Linked DNA regions of Homo sapiens: regions 1, 3, 4, 5, 6 and 7 are each linked to region 2. The links are contacts of gene promoters, found by promoter capture Hi-C in blood cells and fetal thymus (Javierre and others, 2016). All regions are on one chromosome and are shown on one strand. Each heading gives the region's core, a stretch centred on a gene start or on the middle of the fragment in contact. The rest is flanking DNA. Distances are from core to core; before and after follow the strand shown.

Region 1 (2,943 bases), core at 108-2,607, 740 kb after region 2:
AAAAGAAAGGAGATTACATTTACATTTGCTTTCTAGTCAATCAGGTTTTTCTTATTCGCCCAGCAACACTTCTCTACAGAGAGTTTGATGAAAAGTATTTTATGTTTTATATAGGCTAGTGGAGACATGGGTATGGCAGGATGGGAGGGTAGGGAAAATATCAAGAGGCTATAGTCTTGATATATAGTACTCTTGATATAGTACAAGCTTGATATTTAATAGCTTGAATTAAATGGGCAATTTTAAAAATGAAAAGAAACATATCTGCAGTGCCTTACAAAGAAGTAACTATAAGAAGTAACAAGTTTAGTGATCATTTACCTATAGGGAAGAAATAAAATAAGGAAATGAACCTAAGATTGTAAACTTAAAGGTCCAAAAACTTGTGTTGTCACCAACAACAGCCAAGAAATTTGGAAGAAATACCTTGAAGGAAAAAAATAATGTCAGATCTAAGTGGGATATTACTAGAAGACAGAGGAGAAGCTTTCTTGATAAGCTATCTGGCCTGTTGATGTACATATGAAAGTCATCATCATACAGAAATTGAGTCCAGGCGCAGTGGCTCATGCCTGTAATCCCAGCACTTTGGGAGGTCTTGAGCTCAGGAGTTCGAGACCAGCCTGGGCAACATGGCAAGACCCCATCAATACAAAAAATTTTAAAAAGTTAGCCAGGCATGGTGACACACCCTTGTAGTCCCAGCTACTCTGGAGGCTTAGGCGGGAGGATCACCTGAGCCCAGGAGTTGGAGGTTGAAGTAAGCCTGCACTCCAGCCTAGGCAACACAACAAGACCCTGTTTCGTTAAAATAAATAAATAAAAGAAAGAAAAATTGATTGACATTCTATGGACTAATGAGGGAATGGAATGAAGATCAAATGGTTGTATATGAACTTTGATTGCAAGATAAGCTACCAATTACTGACAAAAAAAATTGAGTAACATACTGCATGATTCCACATATATCAGTTCTAGAAAATGCAAACTGGTCTCTAGTGACAGAAAACAGGCCAGTGGTTTCCTGGGGAGAGAGGTAAGAGGAGGCAAGGATTATAAAGAGGCAAGGGGAACTCTTAGGAATGATGGCTATCATCAGTTGTATTTCTTCCTTTCTAACTTGAATGCGATTTATTTCTTTTTCTTGCCTGATTGCCCTGGACAGAACCTCTGATGTTGAATGAAAGTGGTCAGAGCAGATATCTTTGTATTATTCTTTATCTTACGGGGAAAGGGAAAGCATGCAGTTTTTCATCATTATGCATAAGGCTATCTGTAGGATTTTTATAGATGTCCTTTATCTGGTTGAGAAAGTACCCTTCTATTCCTAGTTTGCTAACAGGTTTGGTTTTTTTTTTGTTTTTTTTGTTTTTTTTGTTTTTGGTTTTTTAAAATCAGGAACAAATATACGATTTTGTCAGATTTTTTGGGTGTCTATTGAAATGATCAGATTTTCTTTTTTAGCTTAATATAGTGACTTACAATGATTAATTTTTTAATTTAAAGCAATGACATATTTTTGGGATAAACCTCATCCAGTAATATTAACTTTCTTATATTTTGTTGGATTTGACTTGTTAAAGTTTCGTTGAGAATTATTACATCCATGTTCAAGAGGGAAACTGGGCTATAGTTTTCTTTTCTTGTAATGGCTTTGTGTGGTTTAGGTATCAGGGTAATGCTGGCCCCCAAAAATAAACTGAGACGTATTCCTTCCTCTTCAGTTTTCTGGAAGATTTGTATATAATTGGTATACACAGTGTTATCCCTAAGTGTCTGGAAGAATCCACTAGTGTTTCTTTGTGAGAATATTTTTAACTATTAATTTTTTAAAAATAGATACATAGCTTTGGAAGTTATCTATTTCTTTTTCTTTTTTTTTTCTTTTTTTTCTTTTTTTTTTCTTTTTTTTCTTTTTTTTTTTTTTTTTGAGACAGGGTCTCACTCTTTCACCCAGGCTGGAATGCAGTGGCATAATCAGGGCTCAATCTCGCAAGCTCAAGCGATCCTCCCGCCTTAGCCCCCCAAGTAGCTGGGACTACAGTCATGCACCACCACACCCAGCTAAATTTTTTTGTATTTTTAGTAGAGATGGGGTTTCTTCACATTGCCCAGGCTGGTCTCGAACTCCTGGACTTAAGTGATCTGCCCACCTCAAACTCCCAAAATGCTGGGATTACAGGTGTGAGCCACTGCACCTGGCTGTACTTCTTTTTGAGTAAGCTTTGGTAGTTATGTCTTTCAAGGAATTTGACCATTTCATCTAAGTTGTTGAATTTTATTTGCTTAAGGTTTTTCATAATATTCCCTTGCTATTCTTTAAGTATCTGTAGAATTTGTCATATTTCACCTCTCATTCCTGATATTGGTAATATGTGTCTTCTCTCTTTTTTTTTTTTTTTTCCTGATCAGCGTGGCAAAAGATTTATCAATTTTATTTATCTCAAAGAACCAGGGTTTGGTTTCATTAATACTCTCAATTTATTTTGTTTTCCATTTCATTTATTTCTACTTTGATCTTTATTATTTCTTTTGTTTCTTTGTGTTTAATTTGTTCTTCTTTTCTAATTTCTTAAGGTGGAAGCTCATTAACTTGAGACTTTTTATATTTTCTAATATAAGCATTTTGCTTATGTCTTCCTACATACTGCTTTAGTGGCATGCCACAAAATTTGATATGCTTTGTTTTCATTTTCATTCAGCTCAAAATGCCTTCTAATTTTACTGCACTCCTATTTTAATCAATGGGTTATTAGAAGGTTATTTAGTAGCATGTTATTTTGTTTCCAAACATTTGGGGATTTTCCAGACAGCTTTCTGTTATTGATTTCTAATTTTAATTCTACTGTAGTCAGAAGACATACTCTGCATTATCTGAATCCTTTAAAATTTACTGAGACATGTTTTATGGCCTAGAACAGGGGCAGGCAAACTTCTCTAAAG
Region 2 (2,805 bases), core at 43-2,542:
AGAAAGGTTTTCTTTACCTTGGCATTCAGATTCGTTTTCATAGGCGAAGAAAGCACTGGGAAGGAGAAGGAACCTTTGCTGGCAAGTTGGGAGGATTATATGGGGTCATACTATCCCAGGGTTAAGGAAACCTTAAAGGACCCAACATCCCTCTCCATATCTCTTCTGATGATCCTTTTGTGCTCACAGACTAACCAGTGTGGCCTTTTCACTCAAAAGCCTCTCCAGATCTGCACAGCACCAAGGGTGCAGTCTGGCTCCCAAAGGAGTAATGCAATTCCATCCTCAGGTCTGCCAGGGCCCACCTGTCTGTCGTGGGCATGCACCATTGCCCTGGCTTTACTGGGCTGTTGGGTTGTCTAGTGGTTTTCCTTGCAGAAAGCAAGCAGGAACAATGCTGCTCCGGACTGGTTTTCCATACCACTCCTCTCAAATATCTTCTATTTTCTTAAGTGTGATCACACACCCATGGTTTCCAATCTATCAAAGCATAACATTGCTAGTCGCTTTTTTCTAAGTTAAGGAAGTAGCCATGTTGGGTTTAATTAAAAACAGCAACTATTTGTACAGCTGTCCCTAAGTTCATGGCTCATAAAAGGATTAACTTCAACCTTGCTGCCTAAGTCTTTTGGGAGTGTCACAAAAAAACATTTAGGCTTTTCTGGGCAGTGCCAGGCCTGGGCCTTGAGGCTTGCTGATGCTAGTTCAGCCACCAGGCTCTCGGTGCTCAAGTGGCACCCAGCAAAGCAGAGAAGAGCAGAACTTCCAGATACACAACTCCTCCTTCTTTTGTTTGGGGGATGCAAGGCCTTGAAGGCTGCTTCAACAAGTTTCTGAAAATTCCCCTCGGGTTGGGAAAGGCACAGTCTTCCTTTTGCAAGTTTTTCTAGAGCCCTTCGTACTTTTGCCCTAGAGTGGGTCTTTTGCACCCCCACCTCCCAGACCTCAGTGGTCATTGGCAGGCATCCTTCGAAGGAGGTGGGGGCGGGGTATCCCCGCCGATGGATGCGCCCGCACAAAGCAGCACGTTTTCTCATCAAAGCCCTGGAGAGAGGGAAGAAGCAACGCTCAGCATTTCGCTGATTTTCAAGTGCACACCGAGCAGCGCTTCAGGCAGCTTTGGGTCAGAACACGCCTGATTCGGACTTCAGGCGAAGGCAGAGGCCAGCACGGGTCACCGATTCAGAGCCGGGGGCGGGGCCGACCACACACGCTGTGAGACCCAGAGGCCGAGGAGCCGCGGGTTAGAAAATGTGACCTTGGCGACCCCAACGCCCCCGCCTCCCTCGCTGCTGCTCCACCTGCACGCGGAGCGCGCCGGGCCGCCAGCGGAGGCGATGGCCAGCCCTGCGCCCTTAGTGGCCTCCATCAGCCACCAAATGGTGGCTCTGCAGACCTTGCAGCTGCTGCAGCAGGAGTGGGGCTGGGGGGACGGTCCAGTCGCCCCCGGGAACCCGCGGGACCCAGACCACGTGTCCACCGCTCCAGCCCGTCGCTCAGGCCCGCCGCGGGCCCGGCCGGGGCCCGGGCGCGAGGAGCGGGGCGGGGGCGTGGGGACCAGGAGTCGGCGGACCGCGGCGCGGGCGAACTCCCCAGAGGAGGAGGTAGTGCGAGGCGCTGAGGGGGGCGCCGAGTTGCTGCCCTTCCCCCGGGACCGCGGGCCCTGCACCCTGGCCCAGATGGCGATGCGCAGCGCGCTGGCCCGCGTGGTGGACTCGACTTCGGAGCTGGTCAGCGTGGAGCAGACGCTGCTGGGGCCCCTCCAGCAGGAGCGGTCCTTTCCCATTCACCTGAAGGTGAGTCTGGCCCCCGCCATCCCCTCTGGCGTGCAGGGTAACCTCCCATCCTCCAAGGGTGGGGCTGCTGGGATGGCGATGGGTGGATCGCAGGATCCCAAACACTGCTGCCCACTGTGATTCAGCCCCAGTGGGAGAAGGAAGGGGGCGGGGGACACTCTGGGGACTCAGCAGGAGGGGCAGGGAGCCCCAGACCCACCTGAGGCCCGCCTGGCTGGCACAACCGAGATGTGGGGACTGCCTTGCCAAAACCTCCCCCTGGAACTCCTTCCTCTCTCACATAAATCAGCTTCCTGCGCTAGAAAGGCCCTTTCCACACGTGCAGCTTGTAGGGATAGAGGACAGCTCCCCCCACCCACTTTCCAAATTAATAACGCTTCCTCCAGAGCCTTAAATACACTTACTAAGTCCCTTCTGCCTTTTGTATGATGAAATCATCTACATTTATTTAAAGTTCCTTCACATTCATGAATCACTATTATTTTTTGCATAAATCCAATTCCCCACAGAGCTAAGGGGTCTTACAGAGTCAACCTACATTCTCATAAAGTGGGGTGAGAGCTGGGTGGGTCCCGGGTGTTAAAGCGTGAATACTAAATGCTAAACTCTTGCTAAGTCACCCAGCTCATATAGGTAGGGCACATTTCCTCTTAAGGTACCAAACTGTGTTAGCCAATTTAGCCCGGGAAGGGAGCAGCTGTCTCCCAGGCTGAGTGAGATTGCGGAAATCTGGGGGTCTGGGTTTCAGTCCTGGACTTGCCATTAACTAACCTAATTGGTTTAAGGTCACGAATCTCTCTGAGACATTCTGGCTTTCAGATTTTGACCAGGAGCATTGCTGTATTTTATTTCCCTGGGGCATCTAGCAGAAGGAGTTGGGGAGGGGTGATGAGGAGAGCTTAGAATATGTCTCAAGAGTTGCTATTCTGTACAAGCCAAGGTTTGGAAAAAGTTGCTATACATTAAGTTGCACTATACACTGTAAAAGATTTATTTAAAATCAAACATA
Region 3 (2,830 bases), core at 195-2,694, 920 kb after region 2:
TTTTTATATGGATTGTAGTCGGTAGGATATTACAATCCCACTTTGCAGGATTAAGGATAGTTTCTGTTCCCCATGTATTAAAATAAACTTGCTAAATACAATGATTACACTTAAATATGCAATAACCGTACTCCCTTTTTCAACATGTAGTTTTATGTTTTAGAAAGTTTCAAAAAGCTTTACTGAATTTAGAAAACTTTTTCTGCAAGTCATTGGGAATGATTGCATGGCCAGGAAACATAATTATAAATAATATTTTGGAATTAGAGATGGGAATTTTATGTAGACTGTACATTAATAACCCTTACAAAATTCCTTAAATGTTAATGCTCTTCTGAGGGAAATAGTGACTTAGAATTTTAATTTTAACTTTAATTTTTTGTTTTTTTGTTTTGTTTTGTTTTGTTTTGTTTTGTTTTGCGACAGAGTCTTGCTGTGTCCCCCAGGCTGGAGTGCAGTGGCCCGATCACAGCTCACTGCAGCCTCAAACTCCTGGGTTCAAGCAATCCTCCCACCTCAGCCACCCCAGTAGCTGGGACTACAAGTGTGCACCACTATTGGGATTACAGGCATGAACCACTGCATCCGGCCTACCTTAATTTTTATTATAGAAAATTCCAAACATGTACAGAAGTAAAAAGAATAGTATAATAAACCCTCATATACCCATCAGCCAGCTTCAAACAATTATCAACTTGTAACCAATCGGGTTTCATCTACACCCCCCCACCCCCAATGCTGCTATTGTTCTTCACTTACCCTCCTTGGGTTATTTTGAGGCAAATGCCAGGTAATATATAATTTTATTCATAAATGTTTTATTTGTATCTCGAAAAAAAGGTCTCTTTCTTTTTTTTTTTTTAGAAAAACATAACCACAATGTCTTTATCAATCCATTCTGCTTTATTTTTTATACTATCAACTTTTTTTTTTTTTTTTTTTTGAGACAGAGTCTCACTCTGTCACCCAGACTGGAGTGCAGTGTTGTGATCTTGGCTCACTGCTGCCTCCGCCTCCTGGGTTCAAGATATTCTCGTGCCTCAGCCTCCAGAGTAGCTGGGATTACAGGTGTGTATCACCACACCCAGCTAACTTTTGGGGTTTTTTTGTATTGTTTTGTTTTTTTTGAGACAGAGTCTCATTCCATCGCCAGACTGGAGTGCAGTGGCACGATCTTGGCTCACTGAAACCTCCGCCTCCCAGGTTCAAGCGATTCTCCTGCCTCAGCCTCCCGAGTAGATGGGACTACAAGCACGCACCACCACACCCAGCTAATTTTTGTATTTTTAGTAGAGATGGGGTTTCACCATGTTGGCCAGGATGGTCTTGATCTCTTGACCTTCTGTTCTGCCCGCCTCGGCCTTCCAAAGTGCTGGGATTATAGGTGTGAGCACCTGGCCAACTTTTATATTTTTACTAGAGATGGGGTTTCACCATGTTGGCCAGGCTGATCTCGAACTCCTGAGCTCAAGTGATCTGCCCACCTCGGCCTCCCAAAGTGCTGAGATTATAGGCATGAGCCACCGTGTCCAGCCTATTTTGTATTATCAACTTTAAGTAAACAGGTATATGATTTTTCTGCCTTTGGTTTTGTAAGTCTAAAAATATTTTCTCATTTAAGTTCTTAAATTTGGGTTATAATAAGAACTAATTAGGACTGGCGTGGTGGCTCACACCTATAATCCCAACACTTTGGGAGGCCGAAGCCGGTGGATCACTTGATGTCAGGAGTTTGAGACCAGCCTGGCCAACATGGTGAAACCCCATCTCTACTAAAAATACAAAAAATTAGCCAGACGTGGTAGCGCACTCCTGTAATCCCAGTTACATGGGAGGCTGAGACAGGAAAATCACTTGAACCCAGGAGATGGAGGTTGCAGTGAGCCGAGATCATGCCATTGCACTCCAGCCTGGGCGACAGAGCAAGACTTAGTCTCCACAAAAAAAAATAAAATAAAATAAAATTAAAAAAGAAAGAAAAATAACTAATTAGGCCAGGCACGGTGGCTCATGCCTGTAATCCCAGCAGTTTGGGAGGCCAAGACAGGTGGGTCACTTGAGGTCTGGAGTTCAAGACTAGCCTGGCCAACATGGTGAAACCGTGTGTGGTGGCACACACCTGTAATCGCAACTACTCAGGAGGGTGAGGCGGAGAATCACTTGAACCCAGGAGGCAGAGGTTGCAGTGAGCCGAGATCACACCACTGTGCTCCAGCCTGGGTGACAGAGCAAGACTCCATCTCAAAAAAAAGAAAAAAAAAAAAAAGAACTAATTTAATTACATTTGTTGTAGTTTACTATAAAAGCAGCACTGGTGCAATGACTCATGCCTGTAATCCCAGCACTTTGGGAGGCTGAGGTAAGAGTTGCTCGAGTCCAGGAGTTGAAGACCAGCCTTGAGCAACATAGTGAGAACACGTCTCGACAAAAAATTTTAAAATTATCCAGGTGTGGTTGTACGTGCCTGTAGTCCCAGCTACTTGAGAGGCTGAGCTGAGAGGATCTCTTGAGCCGGGGAGGTCAAGTCTCCTGTGAGCAGTGATCATCGTGCCGCTGCACTCCAGCCTTGGCACCAGAGTAAGACCCTGTCTCAAAAGCAAAATAAAATTAAAATACTAAAATAAAAATAGCAGTATCAATGATGACAAACTGGGATGTCAGAATTATACAATAACAAATATAAATAATAATATGATAATAGCCAAAGCTTGTGATTACCTTTTAGTTTAAGGTTTTCATTAGCCTTCTTTTCTCCTAAAATTACTTTTCAGTCATTTTACCTTCTGTGTCCTTGCATGTAAATGTGTGTTTTAAAACTCAATTTAGTGTT
Region 4 (2,700 bases), core at 67-2,566, 810 kb after region 2:
TTCATTTCTCTTACTCTTTGTCAGATCGACACCTTGACTGTGTGAGACGTGATTAACAAAAAGGAAAACTACCCCCACTGGAAGTTGTTAAAGGAAAGGCAATGCAAATGAAAAAAAAGAAAAAGAATTTCTAAAAGTTTTATCAGACAAAAATTTAATTGAATCAATGGGGCAATCTGGAGTTCTGGATGATTCTGTTAATTGAAGTTTACAATCACTTTTATTTTATTTTTATTTATTTACTTATTTTGAGACAGAGTCTCACTCTGTTACCAGGCTGGAATGCAGTGGCGCGATCTCAGCTTACTGCAACCTCCGCCTCCCTGGACCAAGCGATTCTCATGTCTCAGCTTCCTGAGTAGCTGGGATTACATGCGTGCACCACCACACCCAGCTGATTTTTTTTTTTTTTTTCTTTTTGAGACAGAGTCTTGCTCTGTCGCCCAGGCTGGAGTGCAGTGGCGTGATCTTGGCTCACTGCAAGCTCCGTCTCCTGGGTTCACGCCATTCTCCTGCTTCAGCCTCCCGAGTACCTGGAACTACAGGCACCCATTACCACACCTGGCTAATTTTTTGTATTTTTAGTAGAGACGGGGTTTCACCGTGTTAGCCAAGATGGTCTCAATCTCCTGACCTTGAGACCATCCTGACCTTGTGATCTGCCCGTCTCAACCTCCCAAAGTGCTGGGATTACAGGCATGAACCACCGCGCCCGGCCGTTTTTTTGTTATTTTTATAGAGACGGGGTTTCACCATGTTGGCCAGGCTGGTCTCGAACTCCTGACCTCAGGTGACCCGCCCGCCTCGGCCCTCCAAAGTGCTGGGATTACAGGCATCAGCCACTGCACCTGGCCTAGTTTTTAAAAAAATTTTATTTAACACCTGTAAAGCTTCTGGAGTATAATCATTTTAAACCTTGTTTGAATATTTTCTAAAACATTAATAAAAATGGTAATATTTCAATATATTTTCTTGCCTTAATAAAGTATATGCTGAATATCATTACATTTTATAAATAAAGACATACCTTATTATCAAGTCTTATGTAATACAGTAGTGTCTCCCATTTTCCATGTAGTTACACACAGTCAACTGAAGTCTGGAAATATTAAATGGAAAACTCCAGAAATAAACAACGTTTAAGTTTCAAATTGTGTGTCATTCTGAGTAGCATGATGAAATCTTGCACCATCTTGCCTAGGATCGCAGTCATCCCTTTGTCCATTGTTTCTATGCCGTAGATACTATCTGCCTGTTAGTTACTTAGTAGCCATCATGGTTATCAGACCCACTGCCCCAGGATTACAGTGCTTGTGTTCATATAATCCTTATTTAATTCATAATCCTTATTTAATTCATAATGGCCCCAAACCACAAGAGTAGTGATGCTTGCATTTTGTTAAATTGTTTTATTTTACTATTATTCTTGTTAATCTTACTGTACCTAATTTACAAATAAAACTTTATCATATATATTTTTAGGAAAGCACATAGTATATATATATAAAGTTACATACTATCCACAGTTTCAGGCATTTACTAGGGGTCTTGGAAGGTATCTCCTGTGAATAAGGGTGAACTACTATATTCTGTAATGTAGGTATAGAGGTTTTAAAAATTGTGCTGAATGTGTTTTAAGCCAAGGATGTTTGATGTTTGATTGCAATTTTTCCTAAGATTGACTTTTTTTTTTTTTTTTGGAAGTAGAATGCTAGTGACTAATGCAGGTTAACTAAAGCTTCAACTTGAATAATCTTCATTTCCTTTAAGCAAAATTTCACTTCATTCCAAACTGAACAAAATTACATTGTATTTATGATTTCACTACACATTTGAAAGATGCACACTCTAAAGGATTCAAATTACAAACCTTTTCCGTTATAACCTAGTGGTTGTTAGCAAGGCTATGTATTTGTAAATGTCTCCTACTGCCAGAAATTGTTTGTTTCAGAGGGGATTGGATTATCAAGAATGGCTGCTGCTTTTGTTCATGGCTGTGTTGTGTATAAGTGATAGAGTTGGACAGTTTTATTCATATGCACATCTACTTTTTAATAGCATGATGATCTGAGGTGATAATTTGAGGCTTCAAGTTCTGAAAAGAAGAATGAATATAGTTTTATTTAATCAAAAATAGTTATTGTTAAAATACTACTTTTAAATGCCTGAAGCGTTTCCTGCTTGCATTTTTAAAGTGACATTATCTTTATTATTAAGGGCCTACTCTAGGTGCGGTACTTCACTATAGTTTATAAAAGATGGTCCCTGTCAGCAAAGAACTGTAACCTGTATGAGAATATTATACTAACATACAAGAAACAAGTAGAGAATAATGGAATGTAAACTCTGGCTTGCTAACTTAAGTGTGGTAGAAGCTTGAAGGAAATGTGGACTTAAACTTATCAGAGAAGACTTATAAGAGGATATGAAAGGTGAGCTGGGCTGAAAAAGTGGTTAAGATTGATTATGTGAAATGAAGGAATGATAACTTGCGAGTGCAGAAAACAACATGAACCAAGACATGATGAAGTAGCAAGGAGTAAAGTAGATACAGTATAATGAAGGCAAAGAGTAGATACTAGGGAATTGGTAGGGAAATGAGTATAATCATGTTTGAGATTGTTTTCCTTCCTTTGCATAATTTACCCTCATTTCTAATCAAAGAAAACAAGGGTATTCAGATTGCCTGCAGCCCTTCAA
Region 5 (2,800 bases), core at 11-2,510, 860 kb after region 2:
CTCTGGGCTAGGAGTGGTGGCTCATGCCTGTAATTTCAACGCTATGGGAGACTGAGGCAGGAGGATCACTATAGGCCAGTAGTTCAAGGCCAGCCTAGCAGCCATGCACGGTGGCTCACACCTGTAATCCCAGCACTTTGGGAGGCCAAGGTGGGCAGATCACCTGAGGTCAGAAGTTCGAGACCAGCCTGGGCAACATGGTGAAACCCCAACTCTACTAAAAATACAAAAATTAGCCAGGCATAGTGGTGGGCGCTGGTAGTCCCAGCTACTCAGGAGGCTGAAGCAGGAAAATCACTTGAACCCGGGAGGCAGAGGTTGCAGTGAGCCAAGATCACACCACTGCACTCCAGCCTGGGCAAAAGAGCAAGACTCCATCTCAGAAAACAAAACAAAACAAAACAAAAAACCAGCCTAGGAAACATAGCGGGACTGCATCTCTACAAAAAATTAAAAATTAGCCAGGTGTGGTGGTATGCACCTGTAGCCTAAGCTGCTTGAAAGGCTAAAGTGAGAGGACCACTTGAGCCCAGGAGATTGAAGCTGCAATGAGCTATGACCACACCACTGCACTGCAGCCTGGGCAATAGACTTAGACCCTGTCTCAAAAAACAAACAAACAACAACAACTAAAAAAACCCACCCTGCCCATTGTGTGGAAGGAAGATGGTACTAAGGGTAAGAGTGGCCCCGGGGGACAGTTTGGAGGCTAATGCGACATCTAAGCAAGAAAGATAATGAGGACTTGAGCTAGGGTAGGAAAAAAGGTCATATTTTAAAAATATATTTTGGAGTTATAGCTGACAGAACTTGTTAATAAATTGGAGGAGGGGCCAAAGAGGAAAAGAGAAATGGAGGATAACTTCCAGGCTTGGGGCCTCAATACTGAATCTCCCTGAGCCTGTTTACTGTTCTGTAAAATGAGGGTAACTGGGCCCCCCCACCATGGGATCTCTGTGAGGAAGGAGGTAGAGGATATAGACTGCCCATACTGACAGGCACATGGTAAACCCTCAGTGCACAGTAGCTCTTATCATTGCCCCAGTGATGACTGTATTTCCCCTGCTTCATCCATAAATAGGATTACAGAAATAACCACCCCATAGAGACTGGGGAAAAAAACTTCTTGTAGAGTGTACCCTCCCCTCCTAAGGGATAGACTTGTACTTTAACAGAATACTTAACAGTAGTGTTGAAACATGTTATTTGCACACAGATAAATAAAAGGATTCCTCATATTTCAAAAGAAGTGTAACACTGTTTTAAGTAGTGTTTGTCCATTCAATACTTAATAGCAGGAGTAACTAAAAGCTGAAATTACAAACCCCTGCTGATTAAAAATAAATCAAAACATAAGATATAAAGCACATGTGAAATAATAATGATTTTTTTTTTTTTTTTTGAGACGGAGTCTCGCTCTTGTCACCAGGCAGGAGTGCAGTAGCACGATCTTGGCTCACTGCAACCTCCACCTCCCAGGTTCAAGCGATTCTCCTGACTCAGCCTCCCGAGTAGCTGGGACTACAGGCACCGTGGCACCATGCCCAACTAATTTTTGTATTTTTAGTGGAGACAGGGTTTCACCATGTTGGACAGGATGGTCTCGATTTCTTGACCTCATGATCCACCCACCTCAGCCTCCCAAAGTGCCAGGATTACAGGCATGAGCCCCCGCGCCTGGCCATAATAACGATTTTTTTTTTTTAGATGGAGTTTCGCACTTGTTGCCCAGGCTGGAGTGCAATGGCATAATCTCAGCTCACCACAACCTCTGCATCCTGGGTTCAAGTGATTCTCCTGCCTCAGCCTCCTGAGTAACTGGGATTACAGGCATGCACCACCATTCCTGGCTTTTTTTTTTTTTTTTTTTTTTTTTTTTTTTTGTATTTTTAGTAGAGACAGGGTTTCTCCATGTTGGTCAGGGTGGTCTTGAACTCCTGACCTTAGGTGATCCGCCCACCTTGGCCTCCCAAAGTGCTGGGATTGCAGGGGTAAGCCACCGCGCCCCGCCGCAACAATGACTTTTTTAAAAAACAGGCATTTACTGCATTTTCGTACACTAGAAGCTAAAATACCATGCTGTCCAGTTCAAAACAGGACACCTGGCAACCCTGTTCCTAACAGCTTTCTGCAAAGCCAACACCCAGTGCTTTCTGGCTGCATTGGCCTGTCCTCATTTCCCCCTGGAAAACTTGTTTTAAACAGTACAGATAACATTCTGCCTCTATTACAATTAGCAGCTTCTCTCACCAGGTTATCTAGTGTGGCAAGTGCTAGTGCGGAGTCACTTAGTATCTTCTTTCAAAACCTCCCAGTGGCTGCCTTCAGGTAGCATGTGAAAAGCTGCTCATGGGGAATTCAGCAGCTGCTTCAGGCCCTCCAGGGCATTTCTTGCTGGCATCTTCTGCCTCACCAGATCGCCCTGATTATTAGTGATCTGGGCCCCCTACCTAATGGAAAACCAGCCACTCTTCTTCCCAGCCCCAATGGATATTGATGAGGGGTCCTTAAATCTGGGATCCTTTCCCCTCCTTGCCCAATAATTGAACTCCTAAAATCCTTTTACTACCTGGGAATCTGCAAAGACAACCTTGAATTTGAACTGGAGCTAGAAGGACTTCCTCCGAACGAATTTGCCCATAGATGACTCTCTGGTACATGGTCTCTGTTGTTCAACTTTCTCTATTCTGAAGTCTAGAAGACACCCTTGCTTCTGAAAGTGGGGCCTAAGAACCTGCAGCCTCACCAGGGAGCTTGGTAGAAATCCAGAATCTGAGGCAGGATTCTAGACTTATTGGAT
Region 6 (2,737 bases), core at 156-2,655, 880 kb after region 2:
GGATTACAGGTGCACACCACCACGCCTGGATAATTTTTGTATTTTTAGTAGAGATGGGGTTTCACCATGTTGGCCAGGCTGGTTTCAAACTCCTGACCTTGTAACCTGCCCACCTTGGCCTCCCAAAGTGTTGAGATTACAGGCGTGAGCCATTGTGCCTGGGATAAAATGTGTTTCTTGTAGACAACATATAGTTAGGTCTTGTTTTTAGATCTACTCAATCTTTGTCTTAGTAAAATTTAGATCATTAACATTTACAGTCATTATAGATATAGTTGGATTAATATATCATATTTGTTACTGCTTTCTATTTGTTGCCCTTGTTTTTTATTCCTGTTTTTGTTTTCCACTGTTTTTCTGCTTTTTGTGGTTTTAATTGAGCACTTTATATGATTCCATGTTCTCTTCCTTCCTGGCATGTCACTTATACTTCTTTTTTTACTTTCTTTAGTGGTTGCCCTAGAGTTTGCAGTATACATTTATAATTAATGCAAGTCCACTTTCAAATAACACTGTACTACATCATGGGTAGTATATCTTGTAATAATAAAATATCATTAATTCATCCCTCCTGTTTCTTGTATCACTGCTACAAAACATCACTTTAAAAAATTTAAGAAGATACAAATAAATGGAAAGACATCCCATGTTCATGGATTGGAAGGCTTAATATTGTTAAAATAACAATACTACCCAAAGTGATCTATAAATTAAATGCAATTCCCATCAAAATTCCAATGGCTTTTTGTTTTTGCAGAAAAAATTTAAAAACCCTGAAATGCATATAAAGTCTCAAAGAATCCCATATAGCCAAAAAAATCTTTAGGAAGAAAAACAAAGCTGGAGGTCTCATACTTCCTATTTTGAAAGATATCACAAAGCTACAGTAATCAAAATAGTATTATACTGACATAAAGACAGACACACAGACCAATGGAACAGAAGAATTAGCCCAGAAATAAGCCCTCACATATATTGTCAAATGATATTTGACGAGGGTGCCAAGGCCACAAAATGGGGGAGAGACTAGTCTCTTCAACAAATGATGTTGGGAAAACTGATTACGTCCAAATTTTAAAAAATGACTTTACACCATGTACAAAAATTAATTCAAAATGTGTTAAAGGCCTGAACATAAGACCTGAAACTATAAAACTCCTAGGAGAGACAAATGAAATGGTTTTGCTCCCAACCTCTCTGGTCATATTAGTCAGAGTGGCTGATGGAGTGGCAAGCTTGTGTAAAAACTCAAGTTTGGTCAAGAACATATTGGGCTAAGGGGTGTATTTTTCCAACAGGCAATCTGTCACTGGCCTTGAGTATCCCCATATATTTTTGCTAGGCATACCAAGAATGCAAAGCCCTGACCATTCTTTACCAGGGCCATTTCTCAAGATTGTGTTTGCAGCAAGCAAACCTGAAGGATGGGGTAATATCTCCCCGAAACAGCAGGCTGGCTTCCACTTGCCTTAAAAACAATGAATGCCCCAAACTCAGTGTTTCTTTCCTCTAATGCAACCAACTACATTCTAAGGCATCCATCACGAGCCCTTTGTGTCACTTCCAATAAGCTTTGTGGGGCATGGAGACTGACACAAACAAACACGAAGTTCTGAATACTACTTTTGCTGTGGGCAATAAAATCCTTTGTCTCTGACTCAGGAATCTTCTGTCTCCTGCCAGCATCCATGAAACCAAAACAGGCTAACTTGTTAGTTTATAAGTGGGGCAAAATCCCAGGCCTTGCACAGCTCTTGACAGTCCCACATTCTGTATTTAGCTGACTGCACTCTAACAGTTATTTAACTTGTTCTTTACCCCCATATTTTTTATAGACTGAAAAATAAATATAGAAATTTCATCAGATTCAGGTTCAGCTTTTAAGGCAGGAATACTTTGCAAGTGGTGCTGTTTTCTTATTGCATCACATTAGGAGACACAATGTCAGGTTTTCCACTTTTAGTGATACTAGGCTTATTCAGGTTATAGTTTTACCATACATTAATGATCCATTATTTCATTAGTTCCTTTAACCACTAGAATTCTTCAGTAATAGAGAACTTTCTATCATCAACTTTGTTGCCCTAAAATTACTTCAGCCCTTCAATCTAGGCAGCAGGGCACTCTTCCCTGGCTTCCTTGTTCCAGGGGGCCCTGTATTTTGGGGTATCTTCCTCACAGTTTTCTGAGTCTCCCTCTGATCCCTGGGACTGACAAGGGCTATCAGATCCATCCACGTGAGGTGCCCCCATCCCACACTGGGACCTGTGTGTGTCCTAGTTTCTGCTTTTTCCTTTTGGGGTAATCTACAACCCTCTATCCCATACTTGGGATGGACCAGATGCCCTGAGAAGATACAAAAATCAGAGCTGGAATCCAAAAAGGAGACCTGGAAAGTGAATTGCTCCTGTTGGCACAGTATTTCTTTCCAGAGATTGTGCAAGATTGGGTTGTCAAATGGTGATAACATGCTGATTTTTAATAACTCTTGGCTCTGGGCTACCTGTGGTTCACTATCAACCCTTGAGCTTGAGCCATGTGTGTGGATCTGTGTATCCTACAGCACCCCATGTACCTCATGTCACTGACACTCAATGCAGTCACCCCACAACACACAGGCTCTGCACCTCATGTCAGGCAATCCTTCAGGAGTGGCAGTGCCTATCTCCCTTGAAGGCTTTTGAGACCATGCCTCTACAATGTCAGTCAGCCCTTTTAATCAATATCCTCTCCTGCT
Region 7 (2,824 bases), core at 165-2,664, 900 kb after region 2:
TTGTTACTAGAAATATTTTAGGGTCTTTCTCACAATTTCAACAAAATATTTATAATTTTGTTTGGTTGCAGATATTATATATACCCAGAAGTGTTTTTTTCTTCTGTCTGGTCCTTTCTGCAAATGTCGAGTACTTTTTCACTTTATAATCTGGAGATGGTGACTTCTTGCTCCTTGACCCCTACTGTACTTCAAAGACACAGAATCACTTGAATGCTTGAGATGCTTTGGGAAGCTTTTATTTGAACTATTTGGCACAGCTAAGTGTTCTCCAGCCTTTCTCCCATAATACCAGATTATGTAGCCTTATCTTTGGCCATGAAAACTTTGTACACACTTCTCATCAGCCCTTTCTACAAAGTCACAGGTTTAAATGCCCTCCTGTTAATAAGGAGCATAGATCCAAGGACGAACTTTACTTGTCCTCATCTTCCTTTATTTCTTTTGAAAATGCAAAAAACTACTTTGGTTTTGACCTTTGCTTTGTCTCCCTTTTGTATCCTCAGTATCTATTTTCGCTAATTATTGCCACAGTAGTACTTAGAATCTAAATTGGCAAGGAAAAGTACTTAGAAATACACTAGGGTACTTGCATTTCGAGTAAGGGAACTTGAGGTTGGGCAGGGATCACAGAAATCCCCTTGGTTTATGACAGTCTGCTTTATTTTCCATGGAAGGTAAGCAGAATAAGGTACAGTTCTAGGTTGAAAGTTTTTGGTAAATCACATTTTCTATTCTCTGAGACCTTTTTTATGTAGCACTTGCTATTGCTTTTTCTTCATTTTAAATATTAAAAAAATTGTTCTATTTTTATTTCTTTTGTACCTTTTTCAAATTCCTTTATTTTACCCCAGCTTCTTTTTCTTCCTAATGCCAAGTCTCTGCATTTTCCAAGTCTCCAACCTGGTTTACCTGTCTTAGCAATTAAAAGTACTATGTTGACCAGGCTGGTCTCAAACTCCTGACTTCAGGTGATTCGCCCTCCTCAGCCTCCCAAAGTGCGTTTCTACTAAAAATACAAAAATTAGCTGGTTGTGGTGGCGGGCGTCGGTAATCCCAGCTACTCAGGAGGCTGAGGCAGAAGAATCGATTGATCCCAGGAGACAGAGGCTGCAGTGAACTGAGATCGCACCATTGCACTCCAGCCTGGGCGACAAGAGTAAGACTCTGTCTCAAAAAAAAAAAAAAAGTACTAAACAGGCCAGGCAGGGTGGCTCATGCCTATAATCCCAGCGCTTCGGGAGGCCAAGGTGAGTGGATCCCTTGAGCCTAGGAGTTCAAGACCAGCCTGGGCAACATGGTGAAACCCCATCTCTATAAAAAACACAAAAAATTAGCCAGGCGTGGTGGTGCCACTGCACTCCAGTCTGGGCAACAGAGTGAGACCCTGTCTCAAAAAAAGAAAAAGAAGAAAAAAAGTACTAAATATCGTTTTTTTTTTCCGGTAGAGACAGCCTGTTAAGGACAAACCTGCAAAATATTAATATTCAAAGGCACCGCTAAGAGAACCAACTAATGGCAGTCTGTTGCAGTTACAAGGTTGACGTTATTTTCCTTATTTATTTTTGGTTGTTCAATCTAGGTAATATAACTTATAATTCAGGAAATCCAGATTAAATGAGCACAATTCATGCCAAGTAAATTTAAATGTCAGTCTCTGAGGAAAGGGGATAGAAGGAGACAAATACAAATTAGGAATGTATATTCATTTTTTATTTTTTTATTTTTTTTTTGAGATAGAGTCTTGCTCTGTCACCCAGGCTGGAGTGCAATGGCACGATCTTGGTTCACTGCAACCTCCGCCTCTGGGTTCAAGCGATTCTCCTGCCTCAGCCTCCCAAGTAGCTGGGATTACAGGCACACACTGCCATGCCCGGCTAATTTTTTTGTTTGTTTTTAGTAGAGACAGGGTTTCACCATGTTGCCCAGGCTGGTTTCGAACTCCTGAGCTCAGGCAGTCCATATCCCTCGGCCTCCCAAAGTGCTGGGATTACAGGCGTGAACCACCGCACCAGACCTAGGAATGTATTTTTAAATGTAACACCCTAGGAGGCAGTTTGCAGAGTGGTTAAGAACACAGACCCTAGAGCCAGAATGTCTGTTTGAATTTAGCTTCATCCTTCATTGACTGTGCAACTTTTGAGTACATTTCTTATTTTTTCTTCAGCTTCCTCATCTGTAAAGTGGAGGATAGTTTTTCCCTCACATGGTTGTTACAAAGACTAAATTAGTTTATTTTTAAAAAACACTTAGAACAGTGCCTGGCAATAATAAGCACTACATAAATGTCAATCACTATTAGTTACTCAAAATTATAATAATGAATTGGTCAAGGCTCCAGAAATATGTCAGTTTTTAGAAAAATGAGTTTTTGTTAATGTTTCTGATTTTTAAAAAGATCACAAATGTGGTTTGGATTAGTCTAAGGAAAAATGTTTTGTTTAATAACTGATTAATGAGTTTTTAAAAACTCATTTCGTATGACCCAGTACAGAATGGGAAATTCACTAACAGAAGACGTCCAGCTGGCATAAAAAACATTAAAGAAAATCTTAAGCATAATGCTAATCTCAACTCTGAAACACAAGCTTTACATTATTGTTCTCAGTTCTCGAGTTCCTGGCATGTCTTGGAAGCAGACAGACTCTTTTTTTGAAGTAGTCATTCTTTCTTATTGCTTATGACTTAGATAAATGACCTTGAGAAACTATTTTTGGCTTTATTTGTGATTGTTATTTAAAGCGATAGCTGTGAAAGAGTGTCAAAACATCTTTAACGTTGTGCTTTTCAAAAAGAGAGGATAATTCCTTTGAAAGTAATAATG

The links. The method cuts DNA at HindIII sites, captures the fragments that hold promoters and counts their contacts. A CHiCAGO score of 5 or more calls a contact.
Region 1: a contact is called between a fragment that was not itself captured here and the fragment with the promoter of DLEU7 in region 2, in 1 of 17 cell types (fetal thymus). The highest score is 5.4, in fetal thymus.
Region 3: a fragment that was not itself captured here is called in contact with the fragment with the promoter of DLEU7 in region 2 in 1 of 17 cell types (naive CD4 T cells); the score reaches 5.4 in naive CD4 T cells.
Region 4: a contact is called between a fragment that was not itself captured here and the fragment with the promoter of DLEU7 in region 2, in 2 of 17 cell types (naive B cells and total B cells). The highest score is 5.5, in naive B cells.
Region 5: a contact is called between a fragment that was not itself captured here and the fragment with the promoter of DLEU7 in region 2, in 12 of 17 cell types (naive CD8 T cells, total CD4 T cells, naive B cells and 9 more). The highest score is 12.2, in naive CD8 T cells.
Region 6: a contact is called between a fragment that was not itself captured here and the fragment with the promoter of DLEU7 in region 2, in 8 of 17 cell types (total CD8 T cells, total B cells, total CD4 T cells and 5 more). The highest score is 9.4, in total CD8 T cells.
Region 7: a contact is called between a fragment that was not itself captured here and the fragment with the promoter of DLEU7 in region 2, in 1 of 17 cell types (naive B cells). The highest score is 8.1, in naive B cells.

Annotation. Positions count from the first base shown.
Region 1 is chr13:50,101,758-50,104,700 of GRCh38, reverse strand. All of the region lies in intron 1 of DLEU2 (deleted in lymphocytic leukemia 2), which reads left to right. All of the region lies in intron 2 of DLEU1 (deleted in lymphocytic leukemia 1), which reads right to left. Among named protein-coding and RNA genes, the nearest start is that of DLEU1, 21 kb to the right of the region's middle. The HindIII fragment of the contact is 1,737 bases long and covers 489-2,225 here.
Region 2 is chr13:50,842,179-50,844,983 of GRCh38, reverse strand. DLEU7 (deleted in lymphocytic leukemia 7) reads left to right here and starts at 1,292. Exons shown (of 2, transcript NM_001306135.2): 1 at 1,292-1,796. The coding sequence starts at 1,338. All of the region lies in intron 4 of DLEU7-AS1 (DLEU7 antisense RNA 1), which reads right to left. RefSeq lists an enhancer at 1,436-2,362. The HindIII fragment of the contact is 9,888 bases long and covers 1-2,805 here.
Region 3 is chr13:49,917,840-49,920,669 of GRCh38, reverse strand. The region is part of intron 4 of SPRYD7 (SPRY domain containing 7); the gene reads left to right. Among named protein-coding and RNA genes, the nearest start is that of SPRYD7, 17 kb to the left of the region's middle. The HindIII fragment of the contact is 2,530 bases long and covers 180-2,709 here.
Region 4 is chr13:50,029,010-50,031,709 of GRCh38, reverse strand. It overlaps DLEU2 (deleted in lymphocytic leukemia 2), which reads left to right. Exons shown (of 14, transcript NR_152566.1): 9 at 2,218-2,432. Among named protein-coding and RNA genes, the nearest start is that of KCNRG, 15 kb to the right of the region's middle. The HindIII fragment of the contact is 848 bases long and covers 893-1,740 here.
Region 5 is chr13:49,978,725-49,981,524 of GRCh38, reverse strand. No RefSeq gene overlaps it. Among named protein-coding and RNA genes, the nearest start is that of MIR3613, 16 kb to the left of the region's middle. The HindIII fragment of the contact is 4,590 bases long and covers 1-2,800 here.
Region 6 is chr13:49,957,410-49,960,146 of GRCh38, reverse strand. No RefSeq gene overlaps it. Among named protein-coding and RNA genes, the nearest start is that of SPRYD7, 22 kb to the right of the region's middle. The HindIII fragment of the contact is 336 bases long and covers 1,238-1,573 here.
Region 7 is chr13:49,939,256-49,942,079 of GRCh38, reverse strand. No RefSeq gene overlaps it. Among named protein-coding and RNA genes, the nearest start is that of SPRYD7, 4.3 kb to the right of the region's middle. The HindIII fragment of the contact is 2,353 bases long and covers 238-2,590 here.